Linked DNA regions of Homo sapiens: regions 2, 3, 4, 5 and 6 are each linked to region 1. The links are contacts of gene promoters, found by promoter capture Hi-C in blood cells and fetal thymus (Javierre and others, 2016). All regions are on one chromosome and are shown on one strand. The core of a region is centred on a gene start or on the middle of the fragment in contact, and the rest is flanking DNA. Distances in the headings are between cores, read along the strand shown. Region 1 holds the start of MYH11 (myosin heavy chain 11). Region 2 overlaps MPV17L-BMERB1 (MPV17L-BMERB1 readthrough). Region 3 holds the start of BMERB1 (bMERB domain containing 1). Region 4 overlaps ABCC6 (ATP binding cassette subfamily C member 6). Region 5 overlaps ABCC6 (ATP binding cassette subfamily C member 6). Region 6 overlaps ABCC1 (ATP binding cassette subfamily C member 1 (ABCC1 blood group)).

The links. Contacts are between HindIII fragments. The CHiCAGO score rates a contact against its expected background, and 5 or more counts as called.
Region 2: a contact is called between a fragment that was not itself captured here and the fragment with the promoter of MYH11 in region 1, in 3 of 17 cell types (neutrophils, M2 macrophages and endothelial precursors). The highest score is 6.1, in neutrophils.
Region 3: a contact is called between the fragment with the promoter of BMERB1 here and the fragment with the promoter of MYH11 in region 1, in 3 of 17 cell types (neutrophils, monocytes and M2 macrophages). The highest score is 7.2, in neutrophils.
Region 4: a fragment that was not itself captured here is called in contact with the fragment with the promoter of MYH11 in region 1 in 10 of 17 cell types (megakaryocytes, endothelial precursors, erythroblasts and 7 more); the score reaches 16.1 in megakaryocytes.
Region 5: a contact is called between a fragment that was not itself captured here and the fragment with the promoter of MYH11 in region 1, in 3 of 17 cell types (erythroblasts, endothelial precursors and megakaryocytes). The highest score is 7.9, in erythroblasts.
Region 6: a contact is called between a fragment that was not itself captured here and the fragment with the promoter of MYH11 in region 1, in 16 of 17 cell types (endothelial precursors, megakaryocytes, M0 macrophages and 13 more). The highest score is 27.2, in endothelial precursors.

The regions. Positions count from the first base shown.
Region 1 is chr16:15,855,349-15,859,310 of GRCh38, forward strand. MYH11 (myosin heavy chain 11) reads right to left here and starts at 1,680. Exons shown (of 41, transcript NM_002474.3): 1 at 1,593-1,680. RefSeq lists an enhancer at 2,726-3,227. The HindIII fragment of the contact is 5,018 bases long and covers 1-3,962 here.
Region 2 is chr16:15,412,015-15,415,976 of GRCh38, forward strand. All of the region lies in intron 1 of MPV17L-BMERB1 (MPV17L-BMERB1 readthrough), which reads left to right. It overlaps MPV17L (MPV17 mitochondrial inner membrane protein like), which reads left to right. Exons shown (of 4, transcript NM_001128423.2): 4 at 1-1,257. Among named protein-coding and RNA genes, the nearest start is that of MPV17L-BMERB1, 18 kb to the left of the region's middle. RefSeq lists a silencer at 156-373. The HindIII fragment of the contact is 1,466 bases long and covers 1,441-2,906 here.
Region 3 is chr16:15,432,847-15,436,808 of GRCh38, forward strand. It overlaps BMERB1 (bMERB domain containing 1), which reads left to right and starts at 1,742. Exons shown (of 6, transcript NM_033201.3): 1 at 1,742-1,913. The coding sequence starts at 1,808. The region is part of intron 1 of MPV17L-BMERB1 (MPV17L-BMERB1 readthrough); the gene reads left to right. RefSeq lists an enhancer at 2,046-2,668. The HindIII fragment of the contact is 15,111 bases long and covers 1-3,962 here.
Region 4 is chr16:16,185,270-16,189,231 of GRCh38, forward strand. ABCC6 (ATP binding cassette subfamily C member 6) reads right to left here. Exons shown (of 31, transcript NM_001171.6): 13 at 3,562-3,705; 14 at 1,855-1,942. Among named protein-coding and RNA genes, the nearest start is that of ABCC6, 36 kb to the right of the region's middle. RefSeq lists a silencer at 1,131-1,304. The HindIII fragment of the contact is 493 bases long and covers 1,581-2,073 here.
Region 5 is chr16:16,168,046-16,172,007 of GRCh38, forward strand. ABCC6 (ATP binding cassette subfamily C member 6) reads right to left here. Exons shown (of 31, transcript NM_001171.6): 22 at 1,601-1,808. Among named protein-coding and RNA genes, the nearest start is that of ABCC6, 53 kb to the right of the region's middle. The HindIII fragment of the contact is 1,538 bases long and covers 1,396-2,933 here.
Region 6 is chr16:16,139,138-16,143,099 of GRCh38, forward strand. It overlaps ABCC1 (ATP binding cassette subfamily C member 1 (ABCC1 blood group)), which reads left to right. Exons shown (of 31, transcript NM_004996.4): 31 at 2,036-3,916. The coding sequence ends at 2,144. Among named protein-coding and RNA genes, the nearest start is that of ABCC6, 82 kb to the right of the region's middle. The HindIII fragment of the contact is 2,114 bases long and covers 1,138-3,251 here.

The sequences.
Region 1 (3,962 bases), core at 430-2,929:
AGGACACGGTGATAAACATTTACTTTGTTGGAAGCATTTAGTCCCACCAGAAACCTGACCCCAACAAGTTTGTGTCCATGGTAAAGAAGAAAGATAGTGGGGTCAAGGGTATGAACTTGGACTCAAACTGACCCGGGAATGGGTTCTACCACTTGCTGGCTGTGTGACACTTTACCTCTCTGAGCCTCAGCTGCCTTGTATACTAAACAGGCATCATAAAGCCTTTCTTATGAAGTTGTTGCAAAGATTAAATGAGATAAATTAAGTTAAATGTTGCAACAGCATGTGGCACTGAAGTGTTCCATCAACGGTAGCTATCTCAAAGGGAAAACATCAATTTCCTTCAAACAAAATTCTCTATCTTATTTCACACCCTGCCACCTAATGACTTTCAGTTCAGCGTCAAGTTCCGTCTCTGAACAATTCTAAAATAGTATCGTTGAGTAAATCAAAGAAACAAAAAACTATGCAAAGCAGTTTATTAATAGCCTGCATTCTTTTTGCCAAACCCCGGACGGACAGTTCACCATTTAATCTCTCAGTTCTTCATACTGCAACTAAACACTCCCACCTTGGGTTTCTAAATATTTTCTTTTACTTCTTGACAAGCATGGCTTTGGATGGTACCTTTTCTCAAGTGGCAAAATCCCTACCAGACCCTGTGCTGGAAGAAAACTTACAACAGGCAGTAGCCACACTTTCTCTCGTTTTACCCATTTGGTTGGGCACGAGAGTGGCATTGACACAGGTGGCTCTGCGGGAAATTCTAGTGTAATCTTACCTAACGCACCTGCAGATCGTGGAAGCAAATGGAGACTTTGGAGCCCACCTGGGTATCTGGGGGCCCTTTGGGGTCAACCTGGGTGAGTTGTTTTTTTTTTTTTTAATTTGGAGAAGAGGAAAAAGTGGGCTGTAACAAACTAGATCACAACCAGCCTTATCTCCCAGGGGTTCTCAACATAGAAGAACCTCCCCTAAACTGATTAAAAAAAAAAAACAACAACACTCCTTTCTGCTAAGCCTATGCCCATGTGTTTTTAACTGATTTAATGCATTATCAACACAACTGTGCAATACGGTCAAATCCACAAGGAGCCTCACTTTGCCCTTCTGTGTGATAGCAAGTGACTTTTCAGTGAAGTTCAGCTGTAAATTTTTTGGTGCCTAGAATAAAAGTGAGATGCCTTGATTGTCTGCACCGGACCTCTGAGATTTCCAAGGGAGCATATCTCCTGGATTAGCCTCTTAACAAGAATCACTCGGGACTAATTTTTTTTTTTTTAAGGCAGTTTTTCTGGGGATTCTAGAGTTGGGAAATGGAGTTGGGTCCAGGCATTGATATCGTTAATAAGCACCCCCAAAATGGTACTTCTCACTGGCAATCTTAAGAAATGCTGTTTGGGGAAAGTCTAGGATAATCTAAGACGATAAGGCAGAGAGAGATCCAAATCACAACTCTGCCCCCACCATGGCCCTTACGAGGTTGACAACAGGGACCCCTAAGTGCACCCCAGCCCCTATAGAATACCCTATAGGACTTTTAACACCCCCCTGCCCTGCAATCTGCCCCCAGAATGACAACTACTACTTACAGATCTCCAACTGGGGGGACTAGTGGAGAGGAAACTGGATGGCGAGCTCGGATCTGACGCACCTCCCAGGCCGGAGCGTCCAAATCTCCCTGCGCGTCCTCGGACGCCTCTCTTTATAGACCCGGAGCTGCCCGCGGCTGGGAAAGGGGAGGAGGCCGAAGGGGTGGAGTTGGGGAGGGTCCCTCGCGGCCCCCTCGCCGCGCCCCCTGCAGGGCGCACCCCCGGCGGGAGCGCAAGGAGCTGGGGCGCTCGGGACAAGGGTGCACGGAACAGGTGCGCACCGCACAAGGGCGCACGGAACAGGTGCGCACAGGGACGGGAGTCTCAGCCCCGGCCCCAGGCGGTCGCAGACGCTCCGGATCCCTAGAGAAAGGGGGTCGAGCAGGCAGTGTCTGTGCGGGATGCTTGAGAACGTCTTCCCTGAGTCGGTTCCGGCCGCAAAGGCTTTAACCTCTTCCTCCCCGTGTCGGGGCTGTGGTGGATCTGACTTGACATCTCCCACCCCACTTCCCATTTTATTGGCATCGCACTGTCTGGAAAGAGGGCCGGCTGTGCAGCGTGAAGGGTAGGGAAAGGGGATTTCTTGAACTTTGCAAAGTGCAAGACAGGAGGCCCCCACCCTTGCTGGGAACCGTGCAGGAAGGGGAAGTTTTTACTTTTCCCAACTTGCCATCTCCACCTCCACCCACATCACCACGACCAAAATACAAATAAAAATTAAAAATAAGCCCACTGTGATTATTTCAGCTGTCCCCCTCCCCTGTGCGCCACTCGCCAGCTGCGTGACCTTGGGCAAGTCACTTCACTTCTCTGAGACTTGGTGTCCATAGCTACAAAATGGGGGAAGGCGGTGGCGGTGATAATTACGTTATTTACAAGATGCAAGTGTCAAGATCCAAGGAGAAAGTGGGTGTGCCCCCAGAGTCTGCGAGTTCCCTTCAACAACTTCCCTTCCCCAAGGATTCCTCGCCTAAAATTGCATTCCCTGTCTCTCTCCATCACAGGCTCTCTCGCTCTGTCTCTGCCACTGTCTCTGCATGTCTGTCACTCTGATCATTGCTGTCTCTCGCTCTATCTTTTGTCTCTGTCCCTCTCGCTTCTCTAGATCTGTCGATGTATCTGTCTCTCCCTCCTGTCTCACTTTGTCTCTGGTCTCTGTGTCTCTTGCTCTCCATCTCTCCCGCGTGTCTCACTCCTATCTCTGCGCTTTCTCTCTCTCTCTTCCCCAGGCTCTCCGTCTTCTCCCCGTCCCTCCCTCCCCGCTCCTGTCCACGCACGCACACACAGGCCATAAAAGGAAGTCGAGGCGGTGGGCTGGCCCCGCGCCAGGCCGGGGACCCGCGGGCAGCCCGGGCGCTCCGCTCCCCGCGCGGCACCAGCTCCTCCGAGGTTCCCGGGCCGGGCCGGGCCGGGCCGGTCCCCCTCCCCGGGAGCGGCGGGAGCGGCGGGCGGGAGACAACCCAAAAAGGGCAGGCGCGGACTCCTTCCTGCAGGAATTCCCAGCGCCGCATACCAGCTCTGGGCTGCCGGCTCCCCCTGACTAAATATGGTGCCGAGTGGCCTTCCTGCTCCCCGGCGTCGGGGGAGGGGGCCCTTCACGCAGCCACCGGCCGCCGTTGCCCCGCGGGGCTAGATGGGGACCCCTCTGCTTGGGGAAGGCCCGGAAGGGGGCAGCCCCCAGTCCCACGTGGGTTTCTGCTGCTTCAGGCTAGAGGATTTGGAGAGAGGGTTAAAGTTGGGCAGACCCCTCCTGGGTTCTGTACTTGACGCAGGCCCTTAGTCTACAACCACTCCTCTTGCAACCAGGTGGAGGGGCTGGGGGCCGGGGGTGCGGGGGGTGGCTTTATTAATACCCCCATTTTGCAGGTGAGAAAATTGAGTCCCTGCAGGGGTAAAGGGATTTGACCAAGCTCTCACTGGGACAGTCATTGATTGGTGCTGGCACTGGAACCTTTCTGATGACACCATTCACTTCCAGAGAGGAGACATTAAAGGGAAATGCCCAGGCAAACTGGCCTTGAGGCCCAGGGCGTGTATCTGAGAGTAGATGTCTGGCTTTGAATCTGCCAGTGCTGCTTTCTACCTATATGACCATGGGCAAGTAACTTTGCCTCTCCATGCCTCAATTTCCCTACCTGTAAGATGGGAAGAACATCAGCTACTTCCTGGCCTTTTTGTAAGCAGTCCTTGAGATGATCCATGTAAAATGAACATGGTGCACCGCTTCATGTGAGCTGCTGTTACTCGCAACAAACATGAAACCAACTAGAGTTGCACCAGGCCTCCGGGATATAAAGAGAGGCCTCTTCCCCTGCAGGCTCCCAGGCCCATCTGGAGAGCTCTGCATCTCAGACCCTTTTGGGTCCTTCT
Region 2 (3,962 bases), core at 924-3,423, 440 kb before region 1:
TCATTCACAATTTATCAGTCTTTTTTGTTTGTACAAAAACTAATATAAGTTATTCTCTTTTATTTGTATTGTGATTGGTTTGATGAGAGGGAATTAGGCCACTTGAGAGTTTGTGCGTGTTTATAATTTTCTGGCTGGGCCCGGTGGCTCATGCCTGTAATCCCAGCACTTTGGGAGGCCAAGGCGGGCGGATCACTTGAGCTCAGGAGTTTGAGACCAACTTGGGCAATGTGGTGAAACCCTATCCCTACCAAAAATACAAAAATTAGCCGGGTGTGGTGGCTTGCACCTGTCCTCCCAGCTACTTGGGGGTGCTGAGGCAGGAGGATCACTCAAGCCCAGGAGGTGGAGGTTGCAGTGAGCCGAGATCACGCCACTGCACTCCAGGAAGGGCAACAGAGCAAGACTGTGTCTATAAAAAAAAAAAAAAAGAAAGAAAAGTAAATTAACTTTGGTATTTCAGGTTGTATTTATATGGGGACTTCACATCAACTATGTTCACTACAATTGACCAAGTTAAGTGTAGACAGTCTCTTTAATAGAGAGATTATCTGGAACTGCAATTTTTTTTTTTTTTTTGAGACAGAGTTTCGCTTTGTAGCCCAGGTTGGAGTGCAGTGTCGCGATCTCGCCTCACTGCAACCTCTGTCTCCCGGGTTCACGCCATTCTCCTGCCTCAGCCCAAGTAGCAGGGACTAAAGGCGCCCGCCACCATGACCCACTAATTTTTTTTTTTTTTGGATTTTTAGTAGAGTCGGGGTTTCACTGTGTTAGCCAGGATGGTCTCAACCTCCTGACCTCGTGATCTGCCTGCCTCTGCCTCCCAGAGTGCTGGGATTACAGGTGTGAGCCACCGCGCCCGGCCTGGAACTGCAATTTCTAACTCATACATCATTGCTATAAACCTTATTTGTTTACTGTTTCTCTTCCAAGGACGGTCAGTCATCCTTTAAAATTCATTTGAAGTTATGAAAAGATAGTTTTTGTTACATGGGAAATTTACTTTTAGTACAGTAAAATGTTATGTGAATTTCTACAGAATGTTTGCTAGAATGAATTATATCTAGGATATGCTTAACAATATATTCTGGAGGCAGCTTTCATTTGAAATTAGGTTCATCTTCTGAGAGTATTAAAAAGTTAATGGGTTTTTGTGCCTGAAGATTTTGATGTTGCATTTGGCTACATTTAATCCACTTTCACCCATAAGGTTTAGCATCTAAAAAAATTAAATCACTGCTAATGCAATTAAAATGACTGAAAAAGTTTCTTTTAATACTTTCAACAGCTGATACATAAAAAGGGAAATCTGGAATTTGAAGATAAAGTATGTGCTGGAGTTGAAAGGTTAGGAACACATGAAGATCTGTGAACTGTAGCTAACCTTGTGAATAGAAGGCAGTAATTACTGAGTAACATTTTTGGTATATATCAAGTAAAAGCTTGTCTTTTCCTAGTTCTCTTCTCCTTTGTTAAGTGTATCCTTCTCTAACTACATCTTTATTCATCCTTTTCTTCCTTCCTCTTTCTTTGTCCACAACCCAACCAAACCCACTGCTCTCTCCTCTCACCCCCTGCCCGTGCCATGACCACTTGAACATTCCAGGAGGGCAGAATAATTGTAATAAGGCTAAGGGCTTATTACACTTCTTACACTTAAGGACTCAACAGCCTTGCTTTAGAGAGGATGGTAGCGGAGGATCCTCTCTGGTCTCTGTGAGAAGAAAAGAGAAAGGACCATCCTACGGAGAATTTATTTTTATTTTTATCTTTTTTGAGATGGAGTCTCACTCTGTTGCTCAAGCTGCAGTGCAATGGCATGATCTTGGCTCACTGCAACCTCCGCCTCCCAGGTTCAAGCGATTCTCCTGCCTCAGCCTCCCGAGTAGCTGGGACTACAGGCATGTGCCAGCATACCCAGCGAATTTTTGTATTTTTAGTAGAGATGGGATTTCACCATGTTGCCCAGACTGGTCTTGAACTCCTGACCTCAAGTGATCTGCCTATCTGTCTATGATATTTTAGGTTGGCAGTTGCAAACTAATGGTCCACAGCGTGCTTTTTATGACACCTAGAAGGTTTGAAGACTTTGATTTCATAGTAAAAATCTGGGTTTCAGGCTGGGTGCGGTGGTGCATGCCTGTAATCCTAGCACTTTGGGAGGCTGAGGCAGGTGGATCACCTGAGGTCAGGAGTTCGAGACCAGCCTGGCCAACATGGTGAAACTGTCTCTACTAAAAATACAAAAATTAGCCAGGCGTGGTGGCATGTGCCTGTAATCCCAGCTACTCGGGAGGCTGAGGTGGGAGAATTGCTTGAACCAGGGAGGTGGAGGTTGCAGTGAGCCAAGATTGCGCCACTGCACTCAAGCCTTGGCAACAGAGCGAGACTCCATCTCAAAAATAAATAAATAAACAAATAAATAAATATATAAAATCTGGGTTTCAGGCCAGGTGTGGTGGTGCACTCCTGCAATCCCAGCACTTTGGGAGGCGGAGATGGGCAGACAGCTTGAGCTTAGGAATTCCAGACCAGCCTGGGCAACATGGCAAAACGCCATCTCTACAAATAACACAAAAACATTAGCTGGGTGTGGTAGAGTGCGCCTGTAATCCCAGCTACTTGGGAGGCTGAGGCGAGAGGATTGCTTGAGGCTGGGAGGTTGAGCCACGATCACACTCACACACTTCAACCTGGGCAACAGAGCCAGACTGTCTCAAAAAAGAAAAAGAAAAGAAAAAAGAAAAGAAAAAAGGAAACGTCTGGGCACATGCCTGCTACAGTCCTCTATGAAGCAATGTGCCGCAGCAGGGGTCCCTAATCCCTGGGCCATGGACCTGTACTGGTCTGTGGCCTGTTAGGAACTGGGCCACAGAGCAGGAGGTGAATAGTGGGTGGACAATTGAAGCTTCATCTGTATTTCTGGCCGCTCCCCATTGCTTGCATTGCTGCCTGAGTTCTGCCTCCTCTTAGATCAGCAGCATCATTAGATTCTCATAGGAGCATAAACCCTGTTGTGAATTGCACACACAAGGGATCCAGGTTGCATATTCCTTATGAGAATCTAATTCCTGATGATTTGTGGTGGAACAGTTTCATCCCAAGACCATTACCATCCTGCGCTCCATCCCTTGCTGCCTGTGGAAAAATTGTCTTCCACAAAGCCAGTCCCTGGTGCCAAAAATGTTGGGGACTGCTGTGCTTTAGAATGTGCCTTGAATCTGCAGCCTCTATTGTATAGTTCCCTATAGACTTTGCTTCCTACCATCTTACATTCTGCCTTATAGGCATTTGTGTTTGCAACTCTTGTTTTTGTTAGTATGCTACGCTGGTGACATTGACCAAATTGACCACACATTAATTATAAGCTTAGTTGGTGATGACCTCAATGGAATAACGTGACATAAGTACTGTGACAATACTTCTTGCATGTATCTGCTGGTAGAATTGTAAACCTGGTGGTCCGAGATGGTCTAATTCGATCTTCCTATGTATCTACTTATATTAATAGTGGTAGCATTTGAGGTGGTGATTCAGAGTTTCAATGCCTCTTCTCATGGCAACAACAAATGTTTTCCTTCTGAATCAGCATTAACCTAGATGTTACTGCAGATCAAAATTAGACTGTACATTTTCAACCACAGAAATATTGGGCAGTAAACATTTTTCTTAATATTGATTGCCTACATAGGTTATGTAATTAGCATATGTTTATAGTTTTGTGATTTATGTGTGGCTGCTACTGAGCCAGAGGGGGTAAAGCAACAGCGTTTTCTCAGTTGTGTGAGCAGCATTACGTTATAATGAATAGGTAATATTAAATTGGGCTGATGAATCATATTACAGTAATCCAATATTTCACTTGTAAAGTCCCTGAGGTTTACAGAAGGAAATTTTTTCTAATAACAAGAAGAGTGAGGCATGTGCTTTGGTCTTTATTTCCTAGTTATACGATCCTGGGT
Region 3 (3,962 bases), core at 492-2,991, 420 kb before region 1:
CTATCTTTTTAAAAGGAAGAAAAGCATATTGTGGAACAACAACAGAAAAAAGCAACTTGCAGAATTATAAAGTATGATATCATTTGTATAAATTATAAGAAAATGTTAAATAGCGCTATTATATATAATTTGTAGAGTTATACATATATACCTGAGAACAATAAACATTACATTCATGCAGCCAGGCACAGTGGCTCATTCCTGTAGTCTCAGCACTTTGGGAGACCAAGGCGGGCAGATCACTTGAGCTCAGGAGTTCGAGACCAGCCTGGCCAACATGGTGAAACCACATCTCCATTAAAAATACAAAAAATTAGCTGGGCATGGTGGCACGCCTGTAGTCGCAGCTACTCAGGAGCTTGAACCCAGGAGGTGGAGGTTTCAGTGAGCCGAGACTATGCCACTGCACTCCAGCCTGGGTGACAGAGAGAAAAAAACAGTTGTACCAATTTATACTCCCACTAGCATTAGATAAAAGTTCAAATTATGCCAGGCATGGTGTCTCACATCTGTAACCCCAGCATTTTTGGACTCTGTCTCAAAAAAAAAATCCACATCTTTTACAACACATGATTGTTAGATTTTTTAGTTTTTGCCTATCGGATGATATATTCTTATTTACATTTTCATTTTCCTTATTACTAAGGGGGTTGAGCAGCTTCTCACATTAGGCCTTCCTCCTCTGCCCACATGACATGACTATTCATATTCTTTCCCTGTTTCCTACTGGGATATCATTTTCTTTTTTTCGTTTCTTTTCTTTTTTTGAGACGGAGTTTTCCTCTTGTTGCCCAGGCTGGAGTGCAATGGCATGATCTCGGATGACTGAAACCTCTGCCTCCCAGGTTCAAGCGATTCTCCTGCCTCAGCCTCCCGAGTAGCTGGAATTACAGGCCTGCGCCATCACAGCTGGCTAATTTTTGTATTTTCAGTAAAGATGGGGTTTCACCATGTTGGCCAGGCTAGTCTCAAACTCCTGGCCTCAAGTGATCCACCCACCTCGGCCTCCCAAAGTGCTGGGATTACAGGCATGAGCCATCGTGCCCAGGCACTGCCATGGTGTTTTTTGTTTGTTTGTTTGTTTGTTTTTAAAGATAAACCTCTGGGGTTTCTGGAAAGTAAAGCCCCATGCTCCAAACAGCTCTGCTATACCTGTGTGCAAAATATTTTCATCTCTCTCTCTCTCTCCCCAAAGTGCATGCAAACACATATGGAACTGACATAGGCATCCACTGTCGCACTTCAAATTAAACAGACGCACACGACAGATATTCTCACAGAAAAGCAGTCAGCCAAGCCCAGAACCCATAGATCTAGGTCCACACTCACGCCTCTGCATGCTCCCCAGAAAGACGGATGCATCGCCCGCAGGTAGAGACGGGCTCACCAATCCCACTCAAAACCCGCTGCCGGCTTACAGCTCGCAAGCCGCCCACAGTGCCAGCCCCATGCCAAGCATCACTAGGGGCTCTAGAATAGGCAGGGGCCTTGTTCTCACTTCCTTTGTGTTGCTTTTATTTTAGTTGTTTTGTTTGTTGTTTTTCTTAGAGTTATCACCTGCCCCTCTGTCTCCCTACCCAGCCCCCAAGCCTCCCCTCCAAGCCTCCACTGCGCATGTGCCGTGCATCCCTGCCCCTTCTGGGTACCCGTAGGCGCTCCCGGGCGCTGGCGGCGGCGGAGGAGAGGGAGCAGCGTCACGGGCGCCCGGCCCGTTAAAACGCTGCTGGCTGGAGCCACCTCCCTCCCTGCAGCCCGCAACGGGAATGGAGTAAAGGGAGACCCGTCGACCTGGCCACGGGGATCAGCGATGGAATTAAAGCAATCTTTGTCCACCCATCTGGAAGCCGAGAAGCCTCTGAGGCGCTATGGGGCGGTGGAGGAGACGGCTTGGAAAACGGAGAGACTGGGGAGAAGTGAGTACTGGGGCGGGGGGCGGGGGGCCGGGGACAGCTGGGGATCCATGCGCCTGCGCGGGTGGTCGCGGGAGCGCGAGGAACGCCAGCAGTGGACCCAGGGAAGCGCCCCCGCAGCGGGGCTGGCAGCTCAGGGGGATACGCAGCTCTGCGCAGCGACGCGCTCTCCCCGCGAACAAAAGGGGGGGACCCTCCGGGCTGAGCCTCACTGGGAGGGTTGGGAGATGGCCAGGCAGCTAAGGCAGGAGCCTGGGCTCGACTTAGGAGTCCCGGATCCGTCAGCTCGCAGCTGGTCCTGTGAAGTCGGGTCTCTCCCACAGCCCAGGGAGGAGGATCCTCTCTCCGCCTGGGATGCGCCAGGGCGCTGGAGACGCGGGACCGTCCTGGAAAGCGCCCACGTCCCTGGAGAGGGGGGAGTGTCTGCTGGTTTTCCGCTTGCTTTCCTACCCCCTGCGTGAGGTTTCGGAGCGCACCTGAAATTCCCAGCTTTTCCTCCCTCGCCTTCCTTGGGTCGGGGTGGGAGGCTTGGGGCGGCAAAAGGGTCAAAAGGCACACACCGTTCTCTTTTCTCTCTTGACTCAGTTAAAGTCTGCTTGGGCACAACTCTAGAAGGCAGTTTCGAAATAGACCGGCTGTATTTATTTACTGGTTCTCTCTGCGGTGTTTGGATGTCAACATTTCTAAGTAAACGAAGGATTTTGTTTTTCATTAATAGGATACAATAGTTGAAACTCCTGCCCTCAAAGTGTAGAGGCAGCGTCAGGGGCTCCAGGGTCACTGGAGGTCCCTGCAAACCCGGGGGCTCCCCAAAGCCGCTGCTCTCACATGGCTTGCCCACCAGGCTGGGAAGGAGAGGTCCTTCTCAGGGACCCGGCAGCTTCCTGCCTCGGCTCTGGGTCACTGCTCCGCGCTCTGCCCCAGCACGGATCTCTGAGCGATGTAGGGCTAAAGTATTGTGAATGTGATCTTATTCTGTCCTCACCTGGTGGAAAATTGTGTGTGCGCGCTTTCTTTCTCTATACCTGTAATTATGGATTTAGAAAATCTTCCTAGAAGGGCTCAACTGTGTTCTGATTCTGACGGGTTGAAGTTGAAATCACAATCCAATGTCTTAGTGGTTCATGGGCTAGGATGGATGTCATAGCACTGCCAACCTCTTTCCTTTTCTTTTTTTTTCTCCCTTTTTAACCTTGGTCTTTCTTTCTAGTTCATCCTTTCAAGACCCAATGACTTGGTGCTTTGGCATAATATCAGGGCGTCAGGGCTGAGGGTCTCTGTTTCTTTCTTTAATTTTTAAGTGCACATAGTGGGTGTCCATATTTATGGAATACATGAGATATTTTGATACAGGCATACAATGTGTAATAATCACATCAGGGTAAACGGGGTATCCAAAACCTCAAGCATTTATCCTTTTTTTTGTGTTACAAACAATCCAATTACACTCCTTTTTTAAAAAAGCCCAGCTGTGTGACTAATTATACTCTTTTAGTTTAGCTTTTTTTTTTTTTTTTTTGAGACGGAGTTTCGCTCTTGTTGCCCAGACTGGAGTGCAATGACACAATCTCGGCTCACTGCGACCTCCACTTCCTGGGTTCAAGCGATTCTCCTGCCTCAGCCTCCAGAGTAGCTGAGATTACAGGTGCTCGCCACCATGCCTGGCTAACTTTTGTATTTTTAGTAGAGATGGGGTTTCACCATGTTGGGCAGGCTGGTCCCGAACTCCTGACCTCAGGTGATCGGCCTGCCCTGGCCTCCCAAAGTGCCGGGATTACAGGTGTGAGGCACCCCACCTGCCCTCTTTTAGTTATTTTTAAATGTACAATAAATTGTTGACTGTAGTCATCGTGTTGTGCTATCAGATACTAGATCTTATTCATTCTATCTACCTATATTTTTGTACCCATTAACCATCTCTGTGTCCCCCCATCCCAATACCCTCCCCAGCCTCTGGTAACCATCATTCTACTCTGTATCTCCATGAGGGTCTCTTGTTTCTTACAAGCTCAAAATAATCTCAACAATGGCTGCCTTTTATTGCTAGATGAC
Region 4 (3,962 bases), core at 577-3,076, 330 kb after region 1:
GACCAAATCCTGCCTGCTGCCTTTTCTTATAAATAAAGTTTTATTGGAACACGGCCACATCCATTCATTTCTCTATTTCATGCTTTGAGCAGTTGTGACAGAGACTGTGTGGCCCACAGGCCTAAAATATGCACAATCTGGTCATTTATGGAAAAAGTTAGTGAATTTCTGAAATAAATTATCATCAAATCCCAGCCTTCCCAGAGTGAAGGGGGTGTTATTAATTTCACTGTGGCCGGCACAGTGTCTCATGCCTGTAATCCCAGCACTTTAGGAAGCAGAGGTGGTAGGATCACTTGAGGTCAGGAGTTTGAGACCAGCCTGGCCAACATGGCAAAACCCTGCCTCTACCAAAAAATACAAAAATTAGCCAGGCGTGGTGGTGGGCGCCTGTAATCACAGCTACTTGAGAGGCTAAGGCAGGAGAATTGCTTGAACCCAGGAGGCGGAGGTTGCAGTGAACCAAGATTGCACCACTGCACTCCAGCCTGGATGACGGAGTAAGACTGTGTCTCAAAAATACTACTGCTACTACTACTAATTATTATTATTATTTCACTGTGATAACAAGTGTAATTAGATTAGTGGTTCTTGATCCTTAAGACGTAGTTAGAATTGCCTGAAAGATTTTCTAAAAATCAAAGCTCTCATGGCTTAGCCCAGATCAATTAAATTCATCGTCACAATTAGCTGCTATAACGATTAACATGCCCATTTTGGAGATGGGAACACGGAAGCTCAGAGAGATGATCTACTTGTCAGGATCACCCAGCTAGTCAGTGCTGGGGCTGGGATTTGGACCTGGGCAGTTGAATGCCACAGGCTCGGCTTCTTACCACTATGTGGGTGTTTTCCAGGTACACAGTTTGCCCAGGTTCTTCAGTGCAACAAGGGGGAGGGTGTCTTGGCCCGTGGCATAAAAGAAGGATGGGGTGGAGGGGGAAGCCCAGGTAACTTGAGCTTGGTAAGTCTCATCGTGCAATGGTGCTTGAAATGCTGCTATTTTCCAGCTTGATCAAAATGCTGTCATGCTTATTACCTGGGACTTTCTGCATGAGGACAAGGACCTGGTCTGTTAGAGCAGGAGTCCTCAACCCCCAGGCCACAGACTGGTACCAGTCTGCAGCCTCTTAGGAACTGGGCCATACAGCAGGAGGTGAGCGCAGGGCAGGTGAGCAGAGTGTCATCTGTGTTTATAGCCACTCCCCATCACTCCCATCACCGCCTGAGCTCCACCTCCTGCCAAATCAGCAGCAGCAATAGATTCTCAAAGGAGCACGAACACTTGTGAACTGTGCATGTGAGGAATCTGGGTTGCGTGTTCCTTATAAGAATCTAATGCCTGATGATCTCTGTCTCCCATCACCCGCTTTGGGGCCATCTAGTTGACGGAAAGCAAGCTCAGGGCTCCCACTGGTTCTACGTTATGGTGAGTTGTATAATTATTTCATTATATAGTACAATGTAATAATAATAAAGGGCACAATAAATGGAATGTGTTTGAATCATCCCAAAACCACGCGCCTCTCCCCGGTCCGTGGGAAAACTGTCTTCCACAAAACCAGTCCCTGGTGCCAAAAAGCTTGGGGACCACTGTGTTAGAGTGTTCCCTGTTGTACACCCAGGATGGTACAAAGTGGGCGCTCAGTGAGTGGTCGCTGAATGGCTAGCAGAAAGAAGAGCAGCACGGTGCCAGTTTCCAAGTGACACGCAGATGGCGTGATCTGCACGTGTCATCCATTGCCCGCAGCCCCCATCTCCCCCCAGTACTGATGCTGGCTTGCCATTATGGGCTGGGGTGGCCCCCACATCCCCCATCCCTCCCACACCCCTCCTGCCAGACTCAGCACTCACCGCTTCCAGAGGAACTTGAGTCTACGACACCAGGGTCAACTTCTTCCAGGCAGAGGAAGGTGACCAGACGGTCAAAGGACACCCGGGCCTAGGAAAACCGAAGCCGCAGGTCACCCAGCAAGAAGAGCAAAGAACTCAGGTTTTGGGTGTCGGTGTCTCAAGATGTGTGGCAACAGCTTCCTGTCTACCAAGCTCTGTGCATAGGAGGCGTGAGGACAAAGCTTTCTAGTTCATGGGAAACGATGCAACCCGAGTGGTGACCTTGATGGTGGTGATCTCCCACCTCTGCGATCCTACAAATCAGTGACACCGAAGCAAGCCAGCTGCCATTCTGCAGACAAGATCTGGGAAGAGGATGGTGGCTTTTCCAATAAGGTTATCAAGCCATTGTGTGGAACAATTTCAAATGTTGTCCACCTGGGGGCGCTCTCTCCCAGTCACAAACCCATCTTTGGGGAAGAAAGAGACCAGTCGTTAAAATAGAGATTAGGCCAGGTGCAGCGGCTCATGCCGGTAATCCCAGCACTTTGGGAAGCCAAGTGCAGGAGGATCACTTGAGGCCAGGAGTTGGAGACCTGGGGAACATAGCAAGACTCTTTGTTTCTACAAAAAATTAAAAAAATTAGCCGGATGTGGTGGCCCATGCCTGTAGTCCCAGCTACTCAGGAGGCTGGGAGGTAGAAGCATCACTTGAGTCCAGGAGTTTGAGCATGCAGTGAGCTGAGATCGTGCCACTGCACTCCAGCCTGGGTGACAGAGTGAGACACTGTCTCAATAAATAAATTAAATAAATAAATAAATAAATAAATAAATAAATAAATAAGGCGGCCAGGCGCGGTGGCTCATGCCTGTAATCCTAGCACTTTGGGAGGCTGAGGCGGGCTTATTACATGAGGTCGGGGGTTCAAGACCAGCCTGGCCTGGCCAACATGGTGAAACCCTGTCTCTACTAAAAACACAATAAATAAATAAATAAGACTGGGTGCAGTGGCTCATGTCTGTAATCAGCACTTTGGGAGGCCAAGGTGGGCAGATCACCTGAGGTCAGCGGTTCAAGACCTGCCTGGCCAACATGGTGAAATCTCATCTCTACTAAAAATACAAAAAAAAAAAAAAAAATTAGCTGGGCATGGTTGTGCATGCCTGTGGTCCCAGCTACTTGGCAGGCTGGGGCAGGAGAATCACTTGAATCTGCGAGGTAGATCTTGCAGTGAGCCGAGATTGCACCACTGCACTCCAGCCTGGGTGACAGAGTGAGACTCCATCTCAAATAAATAAATAAATAAAAATAAAAAATAAAAAACATGGAGATGGCTCAGGTATGCCGCCGTTTCTTGTTTTCACCATGCTGAAAGGACTAGAGATAGCAAAGGAAGAGAAACAAAATCGCTTTGTATAAAAAAGGGAACTGACATGATTGCTTGTATGTGGAATTGCTGGGCAGATGGACAAGTATGCATGTTCTGAGGTGTGTGTGGAAAGGTCTGCACATTGCCCTCCAAAGGCTGACCCCTTCCAGATGTATTTGCTGTACTCTCTGCCCGCCTCTGTTCTTGCCCCTACCCGCCTCTTTTCCAGCTCCACACCATCCCTCTCCCTCCCACTCTGTCTTCCCTCTCCTCTGCAAATGGCAGGGGTAGGGAAGCTGGAGCCAGGTGTAGCCCACGCACTCTCCCAGGATGGCTCCAGCCCTTGCACCCACCTCACCTGGACGAGGGAGTGGATGGAGAAGGGCAGGAAAGCCTGGGCCTTGTTGAGGATGTTGAGAACTGTGAGAGTCACAAAGGCTTTCTCTGCATTCATAGCATTCTCGGCCACCAGAGTGTGGACAGCAAACACCACCAGTGCGACCTGGGGGGTGGGGGGGACACGTGGGGCAACAGTGAGACACGCAAGCATGGATAGGGCAGCCTGGGCAAGCTGTGGTGCCTGCACGGTCCATGTGGCCCACCCGCCATGTCCGCATGTGCTTCCCTCCGTAGATCCCACTCCCAGTCCTGCTAACACATGTCCTCTCCGCAGTCATAAGCTACATAAGGCTCTCTCTAAAGACACAGCGCATTGCTAATGGTGATGAGTGCGCAGCCCCACGGCTCTAGGCATCACTA
Region 5 (3,962 bases), core at 915-3,414, 310 kb after region 1:
CAGGTTCTTAGGACTAGAAGAGTCCTCAAGTTCAGGCCTGGCGCCCCCTATTTTACAGGGGAGGTCACAGGCTCACAGCATTTTGGTGATGTGGCCAATGTCACCCAGTGAATGAGGACGAATCAACATGAAAACGAGGCAACTGTCCTTTAAAGATGAAGCCAGGCCGGGCGTGGTGGCTCATGCCTGTGATCCCAACACTTTGGGAGGTTGAGGCGGAGGATTGCCTGAGCCCAGGAGTTTGAGACCAGCCTGGGCAACACGGCGAAACCGTCTCTATCAAAAACAAAAATTAGCCAGCATGGTGGCATGTGCATGTAGTCCCAGCTACTCGGGAGGCTGAGGTGGGAGGATTGCTTGAGCCCAGGAGGCAGAGGTTGCAGTGAGCCGAGTTCGTGCCACTGCATTCCAGCCTGGGTGACAAAGCCAGACCCAGTCTATATATATGTGTGTGTGTGTATAAATAAGAAGCCAAACTCACATGTGCACTCCTGTTACTCCCTTCAGCCAGGCCACGTATTAAAAGGAGAAGAACCAGGGGTTGGGGACAGGGTGGGCGAGGCAGGAGAAGGGTGGGTGTGGTTGCAAAAGGGCAACACGAGAGCGCCTCGTGGTGAGGGGGTTGTTCAGTATCTCAACTGTCAACCATCGTGATGGATGCGAGAGACTGAACAGGGGATACGACTGCACAGAGGCAAACATGCGCACACCCACGTGCAAGCAAAACTGGGGAAATCACAATGAGATCCATAGGGCCGGGTGCGGGGGCTCACACCTGTAATCCCAACACTCTGGGAGGCCGAGGCGGGCAGATCATTTGAGGTCAGGAGTTCGAGACCAGCTTGGCCAACATGGTGAAACCCCATCTCTACTAAAAATACAAAAATTAACCAGGCTGCACACTTGTAATCCCAGCTTCCAGCTACTCAGGAAGCTGAGGTAGGAGAACTGCTTGAACCTCGGAGATGGGGGTTGCAGTGAGCCGAGACGGCAGCACTGCCCTCCAGCCCGGGCAACAGAGCAAGACTCTGTCTCAAAATAAAATAAACAAATAAATAAATAAATAAATAATTGAGATCCATGGATTGATGGGTGTCAGGATCCTTTGTGTGATACTTTACTATCAGTTTGCAAAATATCACCAATGGGAGAAACTGGGCAGACTGTTCAAGGTAGCTGGCTGCCTTATTTCCTAGAACTGCATGTGAATCTACAATTATTTCAAGAAGAAGTCTTTCCATTTTTGAGGAGGAGAAGAAGGAGTGATAGCGGTGATGCATTTGTTAGGGAGGGTCTGGCTCTGTCTGGAGGTTTGGGGGCAGGCACTGAAAGCCACCAGCAGGCAGGCCTTGCAGACGCCTTCCGCTAGTGGGGAGGGACTGGGAGAGGTTCTGAAGCTTCCAGAAAAGGAGGGATGTGCCCTGTCCTTCCCGTTCCCTCCAGCCTCATCTTAAGGACGCAGATCTTTGCCTGGACCCCAGACGTTTTGCACACTGTTCCAGGGGGACAGGGTGACCCAGGGAGGGGTGGGGTAAAGGAGTCCTGAGCACCCCTTGGTGCAGCTGGGAGGAGAGGGATGAGGAGGGCAGGTGAGGCGTACCTTGGAGACAGCCGAGGAGCCCGAAGATCCCGCCACGCAGGGCTGCCTGCGTCTGCTGCCCACCTACTGCAGGGTCGTCCGCCCACAGGCTCAGCCAGTAGCCCCGGCAGAAGGAGGCCACTTGCTGGCAGAGGAAGAGGAAGAGTGCGTAGAGGCAGAGGGGGGTGCCCACGGCACGCAGGTAGGCCAGGTGCACTGTGGCCTTCACCTGTAGCACACATGAGGGAGAGGGAGGCAGAGAGAGCCCCCAGTGGGAGGGGTGGGTTGAGGCAAGGCCAGGCGAGGCTCCCAGAAAACATGCCCATGGCAGATGGGACCACCACGCAGACCTCACTGGTTCTCCCGCTGTGCCTCCCACCAGAAGCACCATTTCCCCGACAGGCCCCAGCCAGCCTTAGAACCCCCATCTCCTATACAATCCCCAGGGAGCTAGTATTAATATTTTTTCTTTTGTTTTTTTTTTGAGGACAGGGTCTTGCTTTGTCGCCCATGTCACCCAGGCTGGAGTACACTGGCATGATCATGGCTCACTGCAGCCTTGAACTCCTAGGCTCAAGTAATCCCCCCGCCTCAGCCTCCCGAGTAGTCAGGACTATAGGTTTGTACCACCATGTTTTGTTAATTTTCATAGTTTTAAAGAGATGGAATCTCGCTGTGTTGCCCAGGCTAGTCTCAGACTCCTGGCCTCAAGTGATCCTCCCTCCTCGGCCTTCCAAAGTGCTTGGATTACAGGTGTGAGCCACCACACCCAGCTAGAAGGGTTTTCTTGAACACCCACCATAGGTCAGGCATGTGTCTCTCCTTATAACAACCTCCATTTCACAGATAAGGAAACTGAGGCACAGAGAGGTTCAGCCACTGGCTTAAGGTCCTGCTCCTACAAATCTGAAGTTCTCTGCACAGCTGCAGCCAGACGGGACTGTTGAAAACATTAATCTAATTATATCTTGTCGTTGGCCTGTCCATGGCTATCTCTTGCTCTTAGAAGAAATCCCAGCCAGGAGGGGTGGCTCATACCTGTAAGCACTTTGGGAGGCCAAGGCGGGTGTGTCACCTGAGCTCAGGAGTTTGAGACCAGCCTGGACCAACGTAGTGAAACCCCGTCTCTACTAAAAATACAAAAATTAGCCACGTGTGGTGGCAGGCACCTGTAGTCCCAGCTACTCGAGAGGCTAAGGCAAGAGAATCGTTTGAAGCCAGGAGGTGGAGGTTGCAGTGAGCTGAGATTGCACCATTACACTCTTCTCTGGGCGACAAGAGTGAAACTCTGTCTCAAAAAAAAAAAAAAAAAAAAAAGAAAGAAAGAAAGAAAGAAAGAAAGAAAGAAATTCCAAGCTTCTTATCTCGCCCCCACTCACTGCCTGCCAGCCTCATGGGACCCCTTTCTCTGGCACCCTAAGCTACTTCCCACCTCGGAGCCATTGCACCTGCTGCTCTCTCTGCCTGGAGCGCTCTTTCTCCTGCCCTTTGTATGACTGGTTCCTTCACACATTCTTTGGGGAAGCTCAAATGTCACTTCTCAGAGCATCCTGTCCATACCAACCATGGTAGGGTTTCTCAGTGGTCTCTATTTCATCATTCTTTCTTTTAAGAGGCAGGGTCTCACTCTGTCACCCAGGCTGGATTGCAGTGACATGATCATAGCTCACTGCAGCCTCGAACTCCTGGCCTCAAGCAATCCTCCTGCCTCAGCCTCTGAAAGTGTTGGGATTACAGGCATGAGCCACTGCGCCTGATCATTCTTATTTTCTTTATAGCACTTATTGTTATTGGACATAGCTTACTTATTAGCATAATTATTTACTCTCCGTCTATCCTCACTAGTGTCTAATCTCTACCAGACTTAGCCTGGCACATAGTGGGTATTGTGTACATGTTTGCTGGATGGATGAGAGGGTAGGTGGGTGAATAAATGAGCGGGTGGGTAGGTAGGTAGGTGTGTGAATGAGTGGATGAATGGATGGAAAGATCAATGAATGGATGAACAGCTGAACAGACAGATGCATAGGTGAGGGAATGGTTGGATGTATTGTTAGGTGGGATAGATGGATGGGTAAGCGAATGGGATGGATAAATGAGTAGGTGGGTGAGTGGATGGGTTGGACAGATAAATGAGTGGGTGGGATAGATGGATAAATGAGTGGATGGGATGGACAGATAAATGAGTGGGTGGGATGGATGGATAAATGAGTGGGTGGGATGGATAAATGAGTTGGTGGGAGGGATGGATAAATGAGTAGGTGGGATGGATGGATAAATGAATGGGTGGGTGGGTGGGTGGATAAATGGGTGGGTGGGATGGATAAATGAGTGGTTGGGTGGGTGGGATGGATAAATAAGTGGATGGGATGGATAAATGGGA
Region 6 (3,962 bases), core at 945-3,444, 280 kb after region 1:
AGATGGAGGAGACAAAAAATATACAGAGCAATAAACCAACAGGATTCCAGAGGGCAGCAGGTGCTGGGAAGGACGCTTGCCAAGGAGACGGGATAGCGAGTGCTGGGCAGGGCCACTGTTTCCATTGAACACTGCAGGCCCAGTGCGTGGGGCCCACAAAAAGGTTTTATTTTTTTTAAAAAATCAGAAGCAGGCCAGGTGCGGTGGCTCACGGCTGTAATCCCAGCACTTTGGGAGGCCGAGGCAGGCAGATCACCTGAGGTCGATAGTTTGAGACCAGCTTGGCCAACACGGTGAGACCCTGTCACCATTAAAAATACAAAAAGTAGCCAAGTGTGGTGGTGCGTGCCCATAATCCCAGGTACTTGGGAGGCTGAGGAAGGAGAATTGCTTGAACCTGGGAGGTGGAGGTTGCAGTGAGCTGAGATTGTGCCACTGCAGTCCAGCCTGGGCAACAGAGTGAGACTCCATCTCAAAAAAAAAAAAAAAAAAAAAAAGAATATAATCCAACCTGGATTTTATTTATACTAACACAGTCATAAAATAGAATTTCTAGCATTTTGTGTGGAGAAAGCCACCTCCGTAGGCATCAGTGCCGGGGACCACAAAAGTCAGAATGCTGCCATAGTGCCAGGGTCCTGGGGGGTTTTGAGTTTTGTGTGGGTCATCTCTGAAGAGGTGACATTTTAGCTGAGACCTGAACAATGAAAAGGAGTCAGCCTTGAGAAGATCTGGGACAGCGATCTGCAACCTTGTTCTTAAGGGCCGGGGTAGTTTCAGCTTTGTGGGCCACATGGCCTCTCAGCCACTTGACTCCAGTGTTGCCGTGTGAAAGCAGTCATAGATAGTGCACGAATGAATGAGCATGGCTATGTTCCAATAAAACTTTATTCATAAAAACAGGCAAGGGGTCAGATTTGGCCTGCAGGCCACAGTTTGCCAACCTTGGATCTAAAGGAAGAACATTCTAGGCAGCCGGTACAGCCGAATGTAAAAATGAATGCGCTTAATGAATTTGAAGGCTAGCATGAGGAGGCCATGTACCTAGAGGTTGGAATTGAGTGGACAGGGGCAGGAGATTAGGCCAGAAAGGTAGGCAGGGGCTGGATCTTAGAGCACCATGTAACCACGGTGAGAAGCTTGGAACTTACTCTAAGAGCCCTATAAAGCCATTGGAAGGTTTTAAGCAGGGAAGTGACATGAGTTTCTATTTTATTTTATATATTTTTGAGACAGGGTCTCACCCTGTCGCCCAGGCTGGAGTGCAGTGGTGGGATCACAGCTCACTGCGGCCTCAAGTGATCCTCCTGCCTCAGCCTTCCAAAGTGCTGGGATTATAGGCGTGAGTCTCTGCACCCAGCTGACATGATGTTTCTAGTTCACTGAGTACCACCTACTAAGTGGCAGATGCTGAGTTGGTGCTTTTGAAATATAGGACATAGAAATGAGGACAGAAGTGGGCAGTGTCAAATCTTACAGGACCTAAAATATTAGGGGTCAGCCAACTATGGCCCACAGGCCACAGATCTGGCCCCCTGCGTGTTTTTATGAATAAAGTTTTATTGGCACGCAGCCACATCTGTTCATTTTCCTGTTGTCTCTGGCAGCTTTCACACTATAAATACAGCAGAGATGCGTAGTTGTAACAGAAAGCATATGGCCTGCAGAGCCTCAAGTATTTACTATCTGGCCTTTTTCAGAAAAATGTTGCCAATCGTTATTGTAGACTGTGGTAAGATCTTTTTATTTTACTCTGAATGTAATGGAACAGTGAATGTGAACAGTCAACACTGTTAATACCATTCACACCATGATTGATGTGGGGTAGATATTAAGGAGCTGGCCTCATGGGAATCTGACATTGACTAGAAATAGGGATTGAGGGTGAGCAACCAGCTGGAAGGTACTGCACCAGTCCTAGCAAAAAGTGTTAGGGGCCTGACCCGAAGCAGTGACTTGCCCAGGTCAGTTGTCCCAGGGGCACGAGGTGCTCACCCCTCCCCTTCCCCTCATGTCTGTATCCCCTCTCCCTCAGGGTGATCGTCTTGGACAAAGGAGAAATCCAGGAGTACGGCGCCCCATCGGACCTCCTGCAGCAGAGAGGTCTTTTCTACAGCATGGCCAAAGACGCCGGCTTGGTGTGAGCCCCAGAGCTGGCATATCTGGTCAGAACTGCAGGGCCTATATGCCAGCGCCCAGGGAGGAGTCAGTACCCCTGGTAAACCAAGCCTCCCACACTGAAACCAAAACATAAAAACCAAACCCAGACAACCAAAACATATTCAAAGCAGCAGCCACCGCCATCCGGTCCCCTGCCTGGAACTGGCTGTGAAGACCCAGGAGAGACAGAGATGCGAACCACCCAAAACACGCACACCCTGCCCCTGGTGCCCTGAGACAGACACACAGCCTCACGCCCCCAGGAATGCAAGTGGTTTCCTGGTGCTTCCCACGGAGGAGTTTTGGCAGCCAGACTTCTGGAGGAATTGGTTGTATAGAAGATCCTAGTGACCAAATTCAGCCTACTGCCTCGGATCTCTCCAGCCGAAGTCTGTGGACTGCAAGTCTTTGAGATGCTTCTGGCTCCCATCACCTCTAACATCCTTGTCTGGGTCTACCAGGAACGCTTCATTTCCTTGGGGCTGCAGTTTTGTGGTTGAGGGGCCTGGAGAAAATCATTTTCTCCCCTTGGCAGTGTCCCAGGGCCCTGGATGGTCCTCTTACCAACATCTGGTCTTCCAGGCACTCAAAAGCTGGGAACCAGCATCTCAGCGCCAGCTCTACCAGTTCTCGTTTTGGGCCAGAGGCAGCCTCTGCACTCCCACGCCTGTCCTCCTGGAAGGGACCTGGTTGGACTAACGGCTAACCTGGACCTGGAACTGTAGGGCCAGGGGATTGTCTCAGGGCCGACGTTCCACCTGGGGCTTCCCTCCCCACCCACCCCGACTCCAGGCTTTCCCTTTTTTCTTTTGTTCAACATTGTAAGAACAATCAATGCTGTTATTACTGTTCCCACCATGATTGATGTGGGGTAAATATTAAGGAGATGGCCTCATGGGAATTTGACCTTGACTAGAAATAGAGACTGAGAGTGAGCAACCAGCTGGAAGGTACTATGCCAGTCCTAGCAGAAAAATGTGTTAGGGGCCTGGCCCAAAGCAGTGTTGGTTGCTTACAGTGTTGATTGATTTTGTTCTTTTTTCTTACCACCTCTTTTCTTTCCCTCTCATGGTACCTGCTCATGGTTATGAAGCTTTCAAAGTAAAGAACACGAAATACCTCCCAAGTATTACCAGTGGGTACCAAAAAAATGTCCCCTTGAGTCTTTTCCTTGTTTTTAGATGTTAATTCTCTCCCTTGGCATCCGGTTAGCCCCCCAGGGGGGGCAGCATTGTGGAGAACTTGATATTTAGTTACTGATGCTCTTCCAGGACACGAAAAGAACCCATCTTTGAATATCAATGATTTTTTTTTTTTAAGTACTGTTCCGGGGAGAAAAACAGTCTCAAAACTTGAACTTCTTGGGAATAGAAGTGTTGGGCTGAGAAGTAACATTCCCAGGAAATAGTGAGAAGCTCGCCCTGTGTTTGAAACCGTGTTGGTCTCTGTGTTCCTGGAAGAAAACAGGGAAGCAGCATCTTTTAAAGCCTGTTCTTTAAGGTGTCTCGTTAGAGCCCAAAGTGGAATCCGGAAGGCAGCCAGAGCTGAGGCTGCCCCAAGACTCAGACTTGCTAAGAATTACGCCGCCGACTTCAAACCCAGAGAGCATCTTTCTTTTAGGCGAAAACGCATATATTTATTTTTTGTAAGTTATACCATTCTTTCACATTAGATAAACTAAGTTTTGGGGGATCCTTTTGTAATGACTTACACTGGAAATGCGAACATTTGCAGTAAAAAAATATATATATATCTATATATTTTATTTCTTTCTAAAGAATGGTTCCCTTTCCTTTGGGGCC